Linked DNA regions of Homo sapiens: region 1 is linked to region 2. The links are contacts of gene promoters, found by promoter capture Hi-C in blood cells and fetal thymus (Javierre and others, 2016). All regions are on one chromosome and are shown on one strand. Each heading gives the region's core, a stretch centred on a gene start or on the middle of the fragment in contact. The rest is flanking DNA. Distances are from core to core; before and after follow the strand shown. Region 1 has its middle 12 kb from the start of ANO3-AS1. Region 2 holds the start of LIN7C (lin-7 cell polarity scaffold C).

Evidence for each region. Contacts are between HindIII fragments. The CHiCAGO score rates a contact against its expected background, and 5 or more counts as called.
Region 1: a fragment that was not itself captured here is called in contact with the fragment with the promoter of LIN7C in region 2 in 1 of 17 cell types (fetal thymus); the score reaches 6.6 in fetal thymus.

What each region holds. Positions count from the first base shown.
Region 1 is chr11:26,274,668-26,277,367 of GRCh38, reverse strand. It overlaps a transcript of ANO3 not described here. Among named protein-coding and RNA genes, the nearest start is that of ANO3-AS1, 12 kb to the left of the region's middle. The HindIII fragment of the contact is 1,894 bases long and covers 359-2,252 here.
Region 2 is chr11:27,505,388-27,508,141 of GRCh38, reverse strand. LIN7C (lin-7 cell polarity scaffold C) reads left to right here and starts at 1,373. Exons shown (of 5, transcript NM_018362.4): 1 at 1,373-1,426. The coding sequence starts at 1,390. BDNF-AS (BDNF antisense RNA) reads right to left here and starts at 1,290. Exons shown (of 7, transcript NR_033315.1): 1 at 1,244-1,290. RefSeq lists enhancers at 967-1,256, 1,327-1,456, 613-1,812. The HindIII fragment of the contact is 9,378 bases long and covers 1-2,754 here.

The sequences.
Region 1 (2,700 bases), core at 56-2,555, 1.2 Mb after region 2:
TCATGATCCATCTATGCTAAAGTTTCAATGTAGCGTGGGCAATTCTATCTTTTCCTTCCAAATTGTTTTCTCTTCTATTTATATAATGAGAAATATAATGTTTAGCCTTTCACTAAACACACACACAATGCATTACTTACAACTGCTTATTTTTATTAAAATGTTATTCATTTAAATTCATCAAAAATAGTTACTAAGAAAAAAATCACATGAAGGATATTTTGTGAAATAGAGAGATATCTACTTTTTTATATGGATGGATTTATTTCTGACTTAAATTACCCCTGCCCCCAAGTAAATGAAGGTAGAACCAAATTCCTGCAGTGCAATATGAATGGCAGCCACTAGAGGGCAAGCTTACCGCGTGCTGTGATTAGATACCACACAACTGCTTGAAATTAGACCACATTTAAGCAACTAAGGTGACCTCAGAGGAGGTTACAAAGAGCCCATTACTGCAAAAGGAGAGGTCAGTCTCTCAAGTGACAGAGGTGAAATATCATTTGAGTCTCTTTGAAGTCACGCTGACCAATTATACCCATCAAAGCCCAAAAGTAATGAAAACCAGAGAGGTGAAGGATATCATTTTGATGGAGATGACCTTTAGAGGGAGGTAGGAGTAAGGTTAACCAATTTTATTTTTATGTGAAAGAGATAGGAGCATATTTCAAACGCATTGAATTGGCCTTTGAAAGCGTGGTCTAACCTAGTGTATTCCTAACAGAAATAGAACAAAGTGGGTGATGCTGTTTTAACTGAGAATCATGGCTAATCTGCTGAAGTATAACTCCTTAGGGAATATCCATTTTATGGAAGTTTATTTGTTTAGAAACGGATCCCTATTTGAACACCAGCATGACCATCCTAAGACAGCCTGTATGCAGTTAGCCTCATTTCACTTAAAGTGTTGGTGTTTCTTGGAAAGAGCAAAGAGTTATACAAATATCAAATTTGCCTATACAAATGAAGCCAGAGTTTCTCGAATGGGGTCTGATGGGCCCTGATTCAGACTCACCTGGGGATGGTTGCTAAAATTTTAATTCCTGAGTTCTTTCCCAGATCTTCCTAATCAGAATTTTTAAGGTAGAGTTTAGGTATCTGCATTTTTCACAAGAGTCTTAGGTGACTCTTCTCATATGCAACGATATTTGAGGACAAATAAGTATGGTATCTTTTGGGATACCGATATGAAAAATGGGTCAGGAATGGACATGAAACTTGGGCCAGGCTCCAAAGTGCAGCCAAGGGTTAACTGTTTGCTGATATGCAAATGCACATACTTTCATCAAGCAAGCAAGGCCTCCCTTGTGCAGAACACCCATATTTGGCCGCTAACTCTAGTACACATTTTGTGTATATTACTGTATTTTAATCTTCCCCAAACCAGTGAAGATGATAGTGTTATTCCCTTGAACAAATGACAGTGAATACAGCTTCAGAGAGGTTAAGTGACTCATTTAAAGTCACATATTTAGAAAGCAACCAAACGAGAATTAAAAGCAAGATTATTTAATTAAAGTTCTTTAGCTAAAAAGGAGACAAGAAAGGAAAATCTTCAAACATTGATGTGGTTTCTTGTGTTAATTCTCTCACTGTATATTAGTCCTTGGTTATTGGACTAGATGCCAGAAAGCACTTCAACACCACCTTGAAATCTGCTGCACTAGAACATTCACCCTATGTCCTGAGATCTGACCTCCAGAGTTACGCAGGTGAAAAGCTAACCTCTGACCTACAGTATGACTTTAGAAAACAGCATTAACTCCTGCCTCCATCCTCAAAGGAGGGATGAGGACCTCCTCATGGTTTTTCCATTTGGGGGAAATATCCATTTTAATGGATTGCTTTGAATTACAGATGTGTTTGTAGGATTTTATAAACTATGGGCTTCAGCATTTAGTCAAAAGAAGGTCAGGCACCTCATGGCTACCAAACAGAAAGTGAATAAAAATCCTAGAAACATTATTGTAGATTTTTTTAGATTTCTCTAAAGAATCATATTTCACTCTAGTGAGAGTGTAGCCATGAAATACTGTAGCATAAAAATGAAATATGTCTTTATTTTCTCTTCTTTTTAGTGGATTTGGCCATTCCTATTGAGTAAGAAAACATTTTTCAGTAAATTGTATTTCATTTTAGCAGCATGAATCTAAATATGTCAGCTTAAGAACAAATCCAGATTCCATTTCTTCTAAATATAACGCTGGTCAGCCCCACAAATATGTGAATAAAGCAATAAAAACACAAAAGCTTTATAGCAGCATGACCCTTAAAATCAAAGAATTTACAGAAAATTCCTCTGAAATCAATGACCATATTGATAGAGTTAAAGATAAATTATAGCATTTTGAGGTAACCTTTTAAATTTTTTGAGTAATGAAATTAGTATTTTATAAATAAAAAATTAATATATATTTGTTTAAGATAAAAATGGTTTCCTTCTTCTCTTCCCCTACATTTCTCCTTCCTAACCATGCTCATGCTTTGTTGTGTTTCCTTTCATATCCATACAGATAAATTGATAGTTGAAGAAGAGTAGGTATAAATTAAAAAATCTTTAAAAAAATTAAAAATGGTATATCACTGAAGTATCTCTGCTTACTTTATTTGAAGTTTCATAGTTCCAAAGTGCAAAAGGATGTCCTAACCTAAAGCAAAAGTATAACAAAGTAACCAACAGATGGCATTATGTGTCATTTG
Region 2 (2,754 bases), core at 124-2,623:
GGACTGCTTGAGCTCAGGAGTTTGAGACCAGCCTGGGCAACATAGCAAGACCCCCATCTCTACTAAAAATTTAAAAATTTGCCAGGCATGGTGGTGCTTGCCTGTAGTCCTCGCTACTGGCAAGACTGAGACAGGAGGCTCTCTTGAGCTGTGATTGCACCACTGCACTCCAGTCTGGACAACAGAGAGAAACTCTGTCTCTAAAACAAACAAAAAGACTTGGAATCAGGAATAAATATGGTTGAAACTATACTATCTGGACTGAAGTGGTGGTTGCACTTAGTGGTAATGAGAAATGAAGTTAGTTGGATGAGTTAGGGTCAGAGTATGCAAGGCTTTAGAAATAGGAAACAGGAGAGAAACCATTGAAAGTTTCTGAACAGAACTTGTGATGATGAAATCAGAATTCAAGGGGAGAAAAAGGAGCATAGTGGTGGCATCCATGATGGATTTGGAGAAGAAAATACTAAAGGTGAATGGAAAGGGTGGACCAGGGGCAAACAGGTTATTAAAACAGTCCCATCATGAAGTGTTGAAATGCTGGATGTAAACACACCTACCACAGTATCAGTACAGACTAAGGGCTTGGATAAATGTTAGTCAAATCCAAGTACTAAAATTCTTCTTGGTTCGCGAAAATTTCAGAAGTGGCTCAAAAATCTGTAATGCATTAAGAATATTATTTGCTTCACAATATTTCATTTACTTAAGATTTTATAAGAATCAGCTGCTTATAAAATTGTTACTTTGTGGTGCACCAAAGCACCTTGTTCTCTCCCTCACCCAGATATGTTTCATGCTCTTTGTACTTTCCACCCCTTAACAGATTTGGAGGGAAGATTCAAGCCGTGGATTTTTAAATTTAAAGCAATGCTGTCACAAATTGAGAACTGACAACATGTCATTACACATTTAATTGCCACCGAATCCCAGAGTTTAAAAATTGTAAGGACCTAAGAGATAGGACCTCTCGTTGTACAGATGCGGAAACTGAGGCTGAGAGAGGGTAAGTGAACAGTCCCAGGTCACAGAGCTGCTAATGGGCAAGGTGGGACTAGAATCCAGGCTTGACTCCTCTACGCTGAGCCAAGGGTTCGAAGCGATTGGGATAAGGGAAGCCTGAGGCAGGGAACGAGAGTCAGGAAAGCAGCTCTTCCCAACCCTAGGAGGCCGGGGGACCTCGTCACCGCGGAAGGAGCGGAGCCAGGCCGACCTAAAAAGCCGCAAGTCCAGGTACCCTTACCCTGATGGCCGCGGCGACACACTCGGCCACCTTCCTGATCTCGCGATACTAGCCGGTACTCACTTTTCCGGCTTCCCCTAGGCCCCGCCCCCCCACCTCAGCCCTTCTGTCGTCATTTCCTGTGGGTCTGTAGGTTAAGGGAGAAGATGGCGGCGCTAGGGGAACCCGTGCGGCTGGAGAGAGGTGAGTGCAGCCGAGGCTCGGCGGAGGTGGGCGGAAGGGTTGGGGGAGTGCTGTGTCGCTGGAGGGGAGGAGGAGTGACCCAGGCTCTGAGATCCGGGCCACGCTGTCCCTTGTGCCGGCGCCAGAGGCCGCCGTTGTCTCTGTGCCTGGCTCTAGGAAGGGCGCTTACGGTATTTTGTCTGTTAACCGTAAGCCCTCCTCTGTTCACACGGACTGTTCCAAGGCACAGCACAACTAAACACAACCTGCCCGCTTCGCAGACACACGCCGCACACGCGCTCCCTTGGTGAGCACAGCAGAAGCAGCATTCGGAGACCCGTACACCCGAAAAGCAAACGTCACACACCCGGTTCGCACAGACTACACTCATTGCCTGTACAGCACGAGAACGGACACACGGTACAATTCAACAGAACCTCCTTTCCCCGCTGTTTGCACACAAACTCCTTCATTACTTTCTCCACAACCTCGCTTGTATTCGGGTTGGGGTATTTGCTAGCTTTTGTGCCCCTCCTAGAAATGGAGAGGTTGCTTTAAAAACAATCCTACTGACTTGGTCTTGGGAAGGAGGTTACGTAAGTAAGCCGAATAGTGGTAGATGCTAAAACACTTGCAGGTGCAGTGTTTTTCATTTCTTACAAACCCTACAATTGCAAACTGGTTGGCTGATTGCTTCCTAGAGCAGACTGTCAAGGAAAATAAAACCACCTCTGCTGAGTAATTAGAGATAGAGAAGCCTACGAAAATAACTGGCTATGCGCCTACCATGATTTCCAGCATTCCAGCGTTTCCAGTCCTTTTACAGATTTCCAGCATTCCACTCTGTCCCTAAGTCCTTTATTTCAAACAATTTCAAGCATGCTTTTCATACACCAGCATTAGAAATCATTGATAGGAATTGAGAAGTACAAATAAACATTTTGAGTACTGGTGGTAAAAAAAAATGTATATGTAGGATGGAGACTGAAATTATATTGCACATATTAACATTTGCAATTAGTCTAAATATTACTATTGTTCCCTAAGAAAACACATTTTTAGAATTACTGTACTTAGAAAAACCTCTTTCCTAATGCCTTCCCACAAACAAATGTGCACTTAATGTTGCTGATTTGCTCTTTACCGTGTTCACCATTTGGAAGCCTCACTGTAAATGAGATTGTTTCCGTTAAGCCTATTAAAGCATCATTTTAGAGGACTAGCTACTCTGGGAAGACTTGCCGAGTTAGGCCTAAGTCTCTGACATCTTCCTCTTGAGCACAGTGGCACTGTGTTTTATAGATGGGAGCAAATCTGTTTGGTGTTAACAGGAGTAAGTTTTTTCTTTG